2 separate regions of the Homo sapiens genome follow, and region 2 is linked to region 1. Evidence: promoter capture Hi-C in 16 types of primary human blood cells and fetal thymus (Javierre and others, 2016). All regions are on one chromosome and are shown on one strand. Each heading gives the region's core, a stretch centred on a gene start or on the middle of the fragment in contact. The rest is flanking DNA. Distances are from core to core; before and after follow the strand shown. Region 1 holds the start of SCAMP2 (secretory carrier membrane protein 2). Region 2 overlaps ARID3B (AT-rich interaction domain 3B).

Region 1 (6,445 bases), core at 428-2,927:
CACACCCAGCTAATTTTGTATTTTTAGTAGAGATGAGGTTTCACCATATTGGCCAGGCTGGTCTCGAACTCTTGACCTCAGGTGATCTGCCTGCCTTGGCTTCCCAAAGTGCTGCGACTACAGGCATGAGCCACCTTGCCTGGCCTGATTTTTTTTTTTTTTTTTTTAACTGAGACAGGGTCTCACTCTGTCACTCAGCTGGAGTGTAGTGGTGCAAAGATGGCTCACTGCAGCTTTGACCTCCTGAGCTCAAACAGTCCTCCTGCCTCAGCCTCCCAAGTAGCTGGGAGTACAGGCACAGGCCACCATGCCTAGCTAATTACGTGTGTGTGTGAGATATGTATATGTATATATATATATATATATATATATATATATATTTTTTTTTTTTTTTTTTTTTTTTTGTAGAGCCAGGGTCCTGGTATGTTGCCTAGGCTGGTCTCGAACTCCTGGCTTCAAGTGATCCTCCTACCTCTGCCTCCCAAAGTACTGGGATTACAGGCATAAGCCACGCACCCAGCCCTTTATGGAAATTAATTGAAAAATTTTAACAAAGTTCTGTGATAATTTTGCCCCCTTTAAACATATCTTTGATTACAACATGAAGAACAATAGACCAATTAACAGCACTGTATTAGTTCAGGGTAAAAATGACAGTGGCTGGGATTCGGTGACAGCAGAGATGAATAATACCAGACAGATCCAAATAAATAAGGTGGATTTGGCCAGACAGTGGTTCATGAGTATAATCCTAGCATTTTAGGAAGCCAAGGCGGGAGGATCACTTCAGCCCAGGTGTTTGAGACGAGCCTGGGCAATATAGTGAGATCCCCATCTCTACAAAAAATCCATAAATTAGCTGGGTATGGTGGTGACCAGCTGTAGTCCCAGCTACTCAGGAGGCTGAGGTGGGAGGATTGCTTGAGCCCAGGAGCTCGAGGCTGCAGTGAGCCATGATTGCACCACTGCACTCCAGCCTGGGCGACAGTGAGACCCTGTGGGGGGCGGGGGCGGGGGAAAGCGGAGCTGTGGAGAGTGAAGCAGCCACCTCCCCCATGATTGAGGCTGTGTTGCTGAATTCCGTGAGTCACTTCATAAATGTTTGATGTCCAGGTTCAAGTCCCAACTCAGGTCCCAAAGCTGATGGGCCCAGGAACCCTCGTCCCTAAAACGATGAAACGACATCAGAGGGCGAGCAGCCCTAGAAGAAGCAGGCTCAGCTCGGGTGGAGGACTGCTGGATGGTCCTGGCACTTCTCTTTCCCCGAGCACGTTCTGCAGAAGAAGCGCTTTCCTAGTTCTCCCAAGGCCTCTGGCCTCACCTGTCACCCCTGTCCTTTGCCCAGGGATCAGTTTGGACTTCTTCCCAAACTTGGTCTACAGAGAAGTGAAGGGGCTGTTTCCTGTCCCACTTTTGAGAGTTTGCTTTAGAAACATAAAATTGGAAGGTGTCAGATTGATAGGCAGTTGGGAAGGACTCCGGCCACGCCTCTGGCTCCGTAGACGCTCCGCGCAGCCAAGACCCCTGAATCCCCAGCAGAGCGAAGATGTGGACGGAAGCCGAATGCCCACCCACCGCACTATTGTGGGCTGGGCGGGGGGGGGGGGGGGGGGGGCGGAGCGACCCCGGTGCCGTCATAGGGCCACGCCCTCGGGGGAGGGCATCGCGCCTGCGCCAGAACCGCTGCCTCGCTCCCGGAAGTGGAGGGTCTACACGAAGCGCCGCTGGGTCTGGGTGCCCGGAGGCAGCAGCGTTCGCGGAGTTCGCCCGCTGGCCCCCGATCACCATGTCGGCTTTCGACACCAACCCCTTCGCGGACCCAGTGGATGTAAACCCCTTCCAGGTAGAGCCCCTCTCCCGCCATCCAGCTCTCAGATTTCCCTAGGGCCCACGGCCGCCGCCCGGGCCTCTCGCTAGAGCCGGGAGACGTGGCGTAGGAGGGACGGGTCATCTGCCCAATGGGAGAGCGGGCTTTGAGGTCTGGCCTATCGTAACGCGTGAGGGGCGCGACTAGCAGCAGGTGGAACTGCAGAGGAGGCGGGGCGCTGAAGTGTTGGAGACAGTGGGGTCTTCTAGCACCCGGAGGCTGGGCTGTGCTAGGGAAGGGGACTGGAGCAGGTACGGTCGGACCCTTCCGGAAGTCTCCTAGCGTCAGGGAGAAGCGAAATGTGGCTATCGCATTCCCTCATTCTTGGATAGACACCTGTCTTGAGTCACTTTAGAAGAGGGGGTGACAGCAACATATGAGGAGGTGGTGAAGCCTCTGGTGGAGGGGAAAAATGTGGGAAAAGCCCAGGACACCTGCCACCGCTCCACCACCAGCCAAACTAGTGTATAAAGTACAGGAGAGCCCCTGAGATTTGTCAGGGAAAGAAAGATGGGAGAGGGCGGGAAGGTAGCCCAAGTTGAAAAATGGCCTTGATAAGAATTCCACATTTTGGCCATGGGTCTAGTTTGGAGTGGGTTTTGACCAGATAGGAGAGCCCGGGTTAGGGAGAGAGGAGAGGTGCGGGGGACTGTGAAAAATTCTGGACCCACAGGGAACGTTTGTCTGATGGAACTGTGTGTGGTGGCAACATAGTTGAGATGCACTGACGTGTGAGCTGGCCTGACTTTTTTTTTTTTTTTTGAGACGGAGTCTCGCTTTGTCGCCCAGGCTGGAGTGCATTGGCACGATTTCCGCTCACTGCAACCTCTGCCTCCCGAGTTCAAGCAATTCTCCTGCTTCAGCCTCCTGAGTAGCTGGGACTACAGGCGTATGCCACCACACCCAGCTAATTTTCATACTTTTAGTAGAGACGGGGTTTCACCGTGTTGGCCAGGCTGGTCTCAAACTCCTGACCTCAGGTGATCCATCCGCCTCGGCCTTCCAAAGTGCTGGGATTACAGGTGTGAGCCACCACGCCTGGCCTGACCTTTTGAACAGCAATCAAGGAAGAAACAATCTTCCTGCTTTCTTTCTTTTCCTTTTTTTTTGTTTTGTTTTGTTTTGTTTTTTGAGACAATTCTTGCTCTGTCGCCCAGGCTGGAGTGCAGTAGCGCGATCTCGGCTCACTGCAGCCTCAGCCTCCTGGGTTCAAGTGATTCTCGTGCTTCAGCCTCCCGAGAAACTGGGATTACAGGTGTGCACCACCACACCCGGCTAATTTTTGTATTTTTAGTAGAGACGGGGTTTCACCTTATTGGCCAGACTGGTCTCAAACTCCTGGCCTGAAGTGATCCACCCACCTTAGCCTCCCAAAGTGCTGGGATTACAGGGGTGAGCCACCACACCTGGCCTCTTTTTTTTGAGACAGAGTTTTGCTCTTGTTGCCCAGGCTGGAGTGCAGTGGCGCGATCTCGGCTCACTGCAACCTCAGCCTCCTGGGTTCAAGCAATTCTCCTTCCTCAGCCTCCTGAGTAGCTAGGATTACAGGCATGCACCACCACGACCGGCTAATTTTGTATTTTTAGTAGAGACGGGGTTTCTCCACGTTGGTCAGGCTGGTCTCGAACTCCCGACCTCAGGTGATCCACCTGCCTCGGCCTCCCAAAGTGCTGGGATTACAGGCATGAACCACTGCGCCCAGCCCTCTTTCTTCCTTTTTTAAGGCAGGGTCTCACTCTGTCGCCCAGGCTGTAGCACAGTGGAGGTCATGGCAGCCTTGACCTCCAGGATTCAAATGATTATTTGAATCCCACCTCAGTCTCCTGAGTAGCTGGGACTACAAGAATGTGCCACTGGGCCTGACTCCTTTTAAAAAAAATTTTTGTAGAGAAGGGGTCTCGCTGTGATGCCCAAGCTGGTCTCGAAATCCTGGTCTCAAGCAATCCTCTGGCCCCAGCCTCTCAAAGTGCTATGATTACAGGCATGAGCCACAGGACAGTCTTCCTACTTAAAGCCCACACCTTTCTGCCTTTCAGCTGAGAGCACAGGGATGATCTTTTTCCACCATGAGGGGCTGAACTGTTACCTCCAGAGCTCCTATGCCTCTTGTTTCACGTCTGCTCAAAACCCGTTCTAGGGAAGCTTGTTTGTGCTGACTGGTGAATTATGAGCCCTGATATTCTGCTCTGTCAGGATGTCACCAGGCACATTAACTCACCCTGCTTGTCCTTTATTTTGGTCATTGGCAGCTTTTAAGTTTCCTGCAGGTGTCAGAGAAGTCCTTGAAGGAGTCCTTCCTGTCATTCACAGCATGAGTTTTCCCACTTTGAATCGCTTCAAGGGTCAGAGCAAAATCAAAGGAGACTTGAACTAAATAATTATACGCTGTCAGGAGAGTGAAAATGTTTTGCTTCTTTCTTGGTCTCAAGGTGTCTTAGCCAACAGGAGCCCTCAGGGCAAATTCTGATAGCTTGTTCCTTAGAACATCAGGGAATTCTGAACATTCCTCTCGTAGCTTAATGTTTCTTGACAGAGCGTTTGCAAGGACCTTGTCTCTTATGTAAGGCAAACAGTCATCTCTATTGAGTAAAGAAAGAAGATTTGCATTTTTTTTTTCTGCCAATGTCTTCTGGTAACAGACTTTAATTACAAAACTGCTGTATAATACTGGGGTTTGGGTTTTAGTAGGATCTTGTAGCCTTATGGTGTATGTTGTATGTGATGATTTTCCATTTTTTATGTGTGTTTTTTTGTCCTCTCAGAATCAGAAATAAAAAGTCTGCTGCTGTCTGACAGAGAGGAAGTCAGTTGTCTAAAAATGCAGAGAGCTTTGCTCCAGTGTTAGCAGAGGGCAAGATAGTTCTACCCTGTATTAATAGCTGCTTGAAAGTCTTAAACCTCATCTCTGGCTCCAAAAATGACTGTGCAAACTGTGGTAGAAGTAACTTCTGCATTCTAGCGAGACAGTCTGTCCATCAGGAAGCCCCAGGATATGGCATGACAGGAAGCAGCTGTGGTCCTGTCAACCAGCCACATCTGGTGGGGAGTCCTGGGTGGGAAGAAGAAAGCTGGCTGGCTGGCTGCGATTTGCTCCTCCTCATCCTGGGCTGGGCTTTTCCTCTTGGCACACAGTGGTGTGGGGAGAAACAGCTTTGGATGTGAGGCCTCTGAACCTTCTCCTGGTCAGAGCTGCCCACCTTTTCCTTGAGATGGTGATGTCTGCTTCCTTGACTGCCAGGGCTAGGACGTTGGGAGGTGTAGCCCTTGGGTGCCTGGGTGTGAGCCCAGCTTCATTTACTCAGGGTGTTGGCACCAAGCTCAGGAGAGAGCAGGTGGAGAGGCGATAGACTCAGAAACTGTCACACCTAGTCACACTCCAGAACAGTCGTTTTTATTTCCGTCATGCAGTGACAGAAATGGTGGATTGCAAAAATATACCTAGTGTTCAGAGCTCATAGTTGACTGTTAAGAGCTGAGAACATTCTTAGAACTCTATTCTAACCTCTTCAGTTTAGAGATGAGGAAACCAAGACCTCAATGAGGATGGTATGTGCCAGAGTCATCAGTTGTTTAGCAGCAGGAAGGTGCTGACCTGGGTCTCATTCCCAGGACAGGGCTGTTTTAAAGGTTTTGAAGCTCAGACATTGGTGTTAAACTGCACTGGGGCTATTTTAGGCTGGCTAAGGAAAGAATGGAATGTAACATCATCACAGTTGTCACCATTCTTGAGAGTACTGGGAGTGGTGAAAGTAACAAATTAGTATTAGCTAAGCTACATTTTTTCTCCAGTGTGAGGGGATGGAATAATACAGATCTTGTGCTTTTGTTCTTTAATTTTTTTATTTTTTATTATTGGTTTTTTTTTTCCACTGGAGAACAATTCTTGGGCTTTTTAAGACAGTTCTTTAAAGCAATATATATTCTGAGTAATGCCAGTCCTGAAAGGTGCTCATGGTTCTGTGGTCAAATAGGTTTGGGAATTGCTACCTATTTCGTTTTTGTTTCTTTGTTTATGTTTTTTGAGATGGTGTTTCGCTCTTTTGCCCAGGCTAGAGTGCAATGGTGCGATCTTGGCTCACTGCAGTCTCCACCTCCTGGGTTCAAGCGATTCTCCTGCCTCAGCCTCCTGAGTAGGTAGGATTACAGGCACCCACCACCACGCTCAGAATTTCTGTATTTTTACTAGAGACAGGGTTTTACCATGTTGGCCAGGCTGGTCACGAACTCCAGACCTCAGGTGATCCACCCGCCTCAGCCTCCCAAAGTGCTAGGATTACAGGCGTGAGCCACTGTGCCCAGCCTGTTTGTTTTTTCAAAGATTCACAAGGCTTGGCCAGGCATGGTGGCTCACACCTATAATCTCAGCAATTTGGGAGGCCAAGGCAGGTGGATCACTTGAGGTCATGAGTTTGAGAATGGCCTAGGCAACATGGCAAAACCCCATCTCTACAACAAATACAAAAAATTAGCTGGGTGTGGTGGCATGCACCTGTGGGCTCAGCTACTCGGGAGGCTGCCACAGGGGGATCACTTGAGCCTGGGAGGTGGAGGTTGCAGTGAGCTGAGGAGTGCCTTTGC
Region 2 (7,420 bases), core at 330-2,829, 320 kb after region 1:
TCACACTCATATTTTTCTTCTACCTTTGTAATATCCTTAAAATCACTTCCTGAGGATAGCGGGAGAGGATTATCATCCTCTGGAATAGATTGATGCATGGGTTCAGAGAGGCAGATTAGAACGCTTGTCCAAAGTACTAGAGCAAGCAAGCAGTGGAAGCAGGGTCTTTTTTCTTTTCCTTTTTTTTTTTTGAGATGGACACTCACTCTGTCACCCAGGCTGGAGTGCAGTGGTGTGATCTCAGCTTACTGCAAGTTCTGCCTCCCGGGTTCATGCCACTCTCCTGCCTCAGCCTCCGGAGTAGCTTGGGACCGCAGGCGCCTGCCACCACGCCCAGCTAACTTTTTTTTTTTTTGTATTTTTAGTAGAGACGGAGATGATGTTTCACTGTGTTAGTCAAGATGGTCTTGATCTCCTGACCTCGTGATCCGCCTGCCTCCGCCTCCCAAAGTGCTGGGATTACAGGTGTGAGCCACTGCGCCTGGCGGGAAGTAGGGTCTTAATCCACATCCTCTGGCTCCAAAACCAATGCTGATTTAATAATTAAATCTGTTACTAGGTAACAAGTCTGCCAAGTATTTACACTTTAACCTTTTGGGGTTAATGTCTACAAGGGCAACCAAGCTCTCTCATATATCACCAAAGATATCAAAGATATCATGGAGTGCTGGGCTGAAAGAATCACTGATAGAGTCAAGTAAGAGATCTCAAGTTCTAGGCCCCAAACCTTTCCCAAGTGACAGTCTGTTCACCTAGATGACTAGAGGAAAGACATGAGCTCGGTACAGATATTGAAAGCAGAAGTCAAGAAAATTCAAGGCTGCCAAACTCCTCAGTTACTGAGACTGAAACACAAAGGAAAAGAGTCTCTGGTGCTGTCTGATGATAGCGAAGCTTATGTTCTTTCTGGTTGCACAATCTAGAGCACGGTTTCTCAACCTTGGCACTACTGTTATTTTGGACCAGATAACTCTTTGCTGTTGGGGGGCTGTCCAGTGCGTTATAGGATGTTTAGCAGCATCCCTGGTCTACCCACTAGACGCCCATAGCACACTGCCCCCTACTCCAGTCATGGCAATCAAAAATGTCTCCTGACACTGCCAAATGTCCCCTGGGAAGGGGCAGGGGTCACCTCTAATTGAGAACCACTCAACTAGATGGATTCCATTGTGACTGCAGAAGGCAAGGGCATGCAAGGTAGCTCTATAAAGAACATGAGGAAAGCCTACGAACATTTTCTTTTTTGGGCAATACTTTGCACAGTTTTTTAAAAAAGCCTCAAATGTTCCATAGTCATGCTGTATCTTTTCTTTTTCCCTTTTTTTTTTTTTTTACACCATCTCACTCTGTCATCCAAACTGGAGTGCAAGTGGCATGATATCGACTCACTGCAACCTTCGCCTCCCAGGTTCAAGTGATTTTCCTGCCTCAGCCTGCCGAAGTAGTTGGGACTACAGGCGTGTGCCACCACACCCAGCTAATGATAGTCATGCAGTATCTACCAAGAAAAGTAGGCCTATCCCGGCCGGGCGCAGTGGCTCACGCCTGTAATCCCAGCACTTTGGGAGGCCGAGGCGGACGGATCACGAGGTCAGGAGATCGAGACCATCCTGGCTAACACGGTGAAACCCCGTCTCTACTAAAAATACAAAAAAATTAGCCGGGCGTGGTGGCGGGCACCTGTAGTCCCAGCTACTCAGGAGGCTGAGGCAGGAGAATGGCGTGAACCCCGGGGGGTGGAGCCTGCAGTGAGCCGAGATCATGCCACTGCACTCTAGCCTGAGTGACAGCGAGACACCGTCTAAAAAAAAAGAAAAAAAAAGAAAGAAAAGTAGGCCTATCCCAAGGGACTACACCTTAATTAGAGGGATGGCTTCTGGACACCAGTCAGTCAGTCATGGCATTAGAAGAAATGGACAGTAGTCTCCACTAATTGCCCAGCAGGAAGTCGACTCTCACGGTAAGATGAGATTGATTTTGCTCATGGTTAAGAATAGGCAAAAAAAACCCCAAAAAAACAAAAACAAACACGAAACTCCCTCTTCTCAAATCACATTCCCTTTGTCTCTCCCAGTGCCCATCTAACATGGCAATTCTTCCCATTTGTCATGGAGCTTCCTTTGCTTCTGTACTGCAGAAGTGCTTCTCCAACAAATTCAGAGAGAACCCACGCTGTCATGAGCTGAGGGTGCCCCAAGCGGCTTGGAGGTGTTTGAAATTGGTAATACCCTGTCCTTGTTAACACATGTGATTAGCAAGCTTTAGGACGTTAGGAATTCTTTAATTGCAAATATTCTGAAATTAAACCCTTCCATCCTAGAAGGCAGTCACAAAACAAAATCTTGTAAAACATGCTAGAAGGGGAAGGGTAGAGGAGGGGGCCAACATTTATTGTGCAATGGCTCCCAGTGCTTTCAACTGAATTGGCTGTGAAAGTATGTTAAGCCCGTGGTTGGATCACAGCCACATGCAGTAACCAAAGCGACTGCCAAAGTATGCAGAAAATCGGACACATGCACCCTGGCCCCACATGCCTGCCAAGCCATCTTTCTTCTTTCTATTCTATCGAAGGGGGTCTACACCCTTCTAGTAACCTAGCTCTACCAATGGGCTCAAGACAGACCCAGCCTGTACTGCTTGAACCACCTTCTACCAGAGGGGGAGAACACCACCCCCAAAAGGCCAGCAACATCCCCTAGTTGGCTGTATGATCTCCTTTGAGAAAAGGAACACTCAGTTCTTTGTCTGTTTTCTTGTTTTACAATTATTTACTCTGCCCATAGGAATCTGATGGGTTTTAGAACACTTGGCTCAATGGCGTTATCCATCTTCCCATCACTGTGGTGTCAGAGAATAATACCACACCTTAACAATCCAGGCCTTGAGAAGCAAATATTTTCTAAGAGTTTCTTCAAAGAGAATCCACGAAATAATTTTGACTTTACATGTTCTAAGTAAGGGATTTCAGATGCAAAGAATAATCTCTGGAACCCTTAAGCTTTCCCAGTTTCACTTTTCAGTTAGCAGATGCCTGTCCTCCCTTACCCCAAAATCTTGCAAAATACTTCTGAGTATTCCTGTTGGTTTGCCAAGCTATGCTATGCTGTAGACAAAATTAACTTTTTAAACTTTGGCATGTGAATGTTTGAAACAAAACTCTGTTTTAAAATATCTCTGCCATAGCAGACTGGGTGGCTGGGCTCCAGTAGACTCAGGACAGAATCAAATTATTGTAACCCAAGTTCGAATCCCCCTTGAGGTTCCCACACTGCCACCGCTAGACCTGAACTCCCTGAGAGAGAAACATGCCTTGTTTCATACAGCACAGGTCTGGCACAAAGAAGCCTCTGTAAAAGTTTGTTGTTCAAAAGAACAAGATGGACACTGTATCACATTAACAATAAGATCTGTGTCAGGGTAGGCGCGGTGGCTCACGCCTGTAATCCCAGCACTTTGGGAGGCCAGGACGGGCGGATCACTTGAGGTCAGGAGTTTGAGACCAGCCTGGCCAACATGACGAAACCCTGTCTCTACTAAAAATACAAAAAAATAAATAAAAATAAAAAAATAAATTAGCCAGGCATGGTAGCATATGCCTGTAATCTCAGCTGCTAGGGAGGGTGAGGCACGAAAATCACTTGAACTCAGGAGGCGGAGGTTGCAGGAAGCCGAGATCGCGCCACTGCACTCCAGCCTGGGCAACAGAGTGCGCTCTGTGTCGGCGGGGGAGGGGGAAGGCGGGGGGGAAAGATCTGTGTCAATTGTAAAGGTCTTTGTAATTGTTGCTGGAGCAAGGGATATTCTATTTTTGCACTCCATTAAGTTTCATAAAGTAAAGATTTTGAACAACAAAACAAGCTAGTCTAATGATCTGTAATGGTTTCTATAGGCTCTCCCCAAGAATATTATTATTTTTGGCCCTTCTAAAATATACTAAAAAAAAAGTTTTAAAATCCCCAAGCATATGATTTACTCCTTTAAAATCAGGATTTATAGAAAAGGAGAGCACAGATCAAATCAATGTTAAAAATTAAAGGGGAAAAGGACGTGCACATCTGACGGTTTAAGTCATTGCTACCCAAAGCCCCCCAGTTCAGTTCTTGATCTCCAAATCCTGGGGGAAGGTAAATTTTGGGTGAGGGATTATACCTCAGCTACTGTGGTATTTATAAAACATTTTGGCAGGTGCTCTGCCAAGCAGTCTATAATTAGTGAATATGCCTCAGAAACATAAAGTGAACGCAAAGAGTTTCAAATGCCAACAGCCAGCCCCCTGAATACTGAGCTACGTAGTCATAGGGCTGCCACCATCTAGATAACATGATGCTGGGTGCCCTGCCACGGTGCACACGTGTGCACATGCACACGCCAGTTCTGAAGAGTCTTTTTTTAAACCTCTAATGGCTTGACCTCAACACCTGCTACACTTCCTGAAGACAGACAGGCTCTGGAGCTCCACTTGTTCCTCGCATGCGGCTGCACTTTCTAGGAACGACCGCACACACGCAGACGCTGGCCAGCTGCCAAGGCGGGGGCAGCCCAGCCGCCTCGGGCCTGAACTTTCCCAGCGCTGTCAGGGCAGGATCCTGCTATGAGCTGACTCAGCGGCCGGTATGGAACTCTGCCAACCACACAGCAGTGCGGGGGCAGCCGGCAACTCACAGATGTTTTGCTAAACCAAAGCAATCAGTGGGAGGCGGGTCTGGGCTGGCGGCCAGGGTGCTGCTGTCGTGGAAGTTGGGATTCTCTGATTCTAGTCCTAGCTCTGCCACTATCTCCCTGGGTGATGAGTGAAAACCTCTGTGTATCTCAGTACATCTCCCACTTCAGAGGCATGTCTATGTGATGCAGGAGAGGATGGCACTGTTTACATAAAAGAGCTCCCCCGGGCACTATTACCTACCATGTGCCTGGCACTGGACAAGCTTTCACATGTGCTAGCTCGGTTAATCCTTACAACATCCATGGGAGGCAGTGGCACTCTTTTTATTTCACAGATGAGAAGACACAGGCTCAGAGCAAATCAGAGCCCTACTAAAAGATCACAAGGGCAATATTTGGAAGTGATGGGATTTGAATCCCACTGCTGGCTGCAAACACTATTGTTGTAAAACTCAGATCTACTGTACAGACCTCCTGATCCAAGATGTTTGATTTTTTGGGTTCCAAAGGACCTTTCTTATATGACTTCTCAGTTGCCCTGTGAAAACCCACAGCTTTTCACAAATGATTTCTAAACAGTACCACTGGATCACAAGAAGTGTGTGTGCTTCTGCAGGGTACCCATGAACTCCCTTACTAAGCACCAACAAGTCACTTAAGCTGGAACAACTTATCATCACTCCCATCCTTTGGGCGAGGAAAAACTATATTATGGGTCACAAAGAGAAGAGGCTTGGTTGAAAACAAAGATTCCCTAGGCTCCACCCTCCAAGATAATTCATTAGGACTCAGCAATCTGTATTTTTTAAAAAGCTCCCTAACTGACTCTGATACTCAGCCATTTGGAAGTCACTTCAGCTTTCCTTGACTAAAAAGGAAATTTTGAGGTCTACCCTTCCCTGTTGTCAAGGGGATGATGTAAGAGTGAAATGAAATCATGTCTACAAGGCTCTTTGTTGGAAAATATATACAATGCAAGTGCTTCTTGTCAGCTGTGTTTAGCTCCAAAACAACCAACTGTCCTTAAAGAGGGTTAGCCTGGAGCTAAGAAACTGTCTTAGGCAAGAACTTTCTTTTACATTACTGTTAGAAACATTATTATTAGAAAAGCTGTAATTAGTCACACATCTCATTTTAGATATTCCTCACAACACTGTTGCAACTTCATCCTTCCTTTAAAAAAGAAGATTGTATTGACATTCTTTCACATCAAACTTGGCAAAACCTATATTAAGAGTAACATACAGGCCAGGGGCGGTGGCTCATGCCTGTAATCCCAACATTTTGGGAGGCCGAGGCAGGCAGATCACGGGGTCAGGAGATCGAGACCATCTTGGCTAACACGGTGAAACCCCGTCTCTGCTAAAAATGCAAAAAATAAGCCAGGCATAGTGGCACGCGCCTATAGTCCCAGCTACTCAGGAGACTGAGGCAGGAGAATCGCTTGAACCTGGGAGATGGAGGTTGCAGTGAGCCGAGATCATGCCACTGCACTCCAGCTTGGGTGACAGAGTGAGACTCCATGTCAAAAAAAAAAAAAAAAAAAGAGTAACATATATTTCATTGCTTTAATGAAGAAAATAAATATTAAATAAGAAAAAAATCCAAAGTCTATTCATGTCTAGGCTGTTGGTCACCGAAGTGGGGTGAGAAGGCACAGACTGGCACAGCCCCTGACCCTGTCAGTCCATGACCCCTCTCTGGCCTTCAGGAAGACCAAATGACCTACAATACCAGAAAGACTGACCTGCTTGAGCTGCTCATCCAGATTCCAGTTCGGCTGTCCTGCTGTGGAGACAGAAGGTGAGGCCTTGGAAGCATCTTTGGTATGGTCTTCTTTAGCTTGTTGTCCATGTGGTGGGAGCCCTGGTGCTGGAAGTAGATTGGACATGGGTGCCACTCTGGGATCTTGGCGAGCTACTTTCTGCACATGAAAATATTTTGAAGCAGCCTGGGTTTCTTTCTCAGCCACCTCTGCAACTTCATCATCCCCATCCTCATCTTCCAAACCTCCGTCCTCTTCCTCAGGCTCTGAGTTCATGTTGCCCCGTTCAAACACTTGGGCCACTGCTGCGGTGGGTGGAACTCTGGCTAAGGGACCTAAGGGAGTGCTGCCAGAAGGTCTCCCAGCTGTGGCGGAAAGGAGAGTCGGCTGTGTGACCAGCTTTTGGGCATACAAGAACTGGGCTTCTCTCATCTGCTGGCCCTGCTTCTCTCTGGCATCCATCTGCAGAGGAGCCAGGTGTGGCTGCTTCTGTTGTTGCTGCTGCTGCTGCTGCTGCTGCTGAAGTGGCTCCATTTTTGCCTCAAGCTTCACCCACAGAGTGGCATGACTCTGAACCTGGGCACAGCCCACCAGGCACACTGGGTCTAAACCTTAGTGATTAACAGAAACCACAAAGAAGGAGGGGGAAAAAACAACCATGTTAAGCAGGTATAAAAAGGTTTCCTTTTCTCCAGTAGAGGGCCATGAGTTCCGAACGCTAAACATATGCTCCTAAACCTGAGTTTTAAGATGAGTGAGTGGTGGGGGTTTCGTGGGTGGGTAGGAAAAGGTGTGAAGAAGAGAAACAGGATCTAAGAGGGGAAATAGGGAATGAATTTCAGTAGTAGTAGCAGGCTTTAAAAGAAGTACATCCAGCCAATATCTAGTCTGCTAACGTGTTCTGATCTCTCTTCCTCTACATTATCAAACATTAATCTGTTACTGAACTAATGTTACTGAACATTAATTACTGAAAAGGTAACTGGGTTTGCA

Evidence for each region. The method cuts DNA at HindIII sites, captures the fragments that hold promoters and counts their contacts. A CHiCAGO score of 5 or more calls a contact.
Region 2: a contact is called between a fragment that was not itself captured here and the fragment with the promoter of SCAMP2 in region 1, in 1 of 17 cell types (total CD8 T cells). The highest score is 5.6, in total CD8 T cells.

Annotation. Positions count from the first base shown.
Region 1 is chr15:74,868,597-74,875,041 of GRCh38, reverse strand. SCAMP2 (secretory carrier membrane protein 2) reads left to right here and starts at 1,677. Exons shown (of 9, transcript NM_005697.5): 1 at 1,677-1,843. The coding sequence starts at 1,787. RefSeq lists enhancers at 3,494-4,479, 4,995-5,505. The HindIII fragment of the contact is 8,993 bases long and covers 1-4,011 here.
Region 2 is chr15:74,543,478-74,550,897 of GRCh38, reverse strand. It overlaps ARID3B (AT-rich interaction domain 3B), which reads right to left. Exons shown (of 9, transcript NM_006465.4): 2 at 6,410-7,038. The coding sequence starts at 6,961. Among named protein-coding and RNA genes, the nearest start is that of ARID3B, 6.0 kb to the right of the region's middle. RefSeq lists enhancers at 4,324-4,633, 4,456-4,750 and a silencer at 4,334-4,876. The HindIII fragment of the contact is 1,365 bases long and covers 897-2,261 here.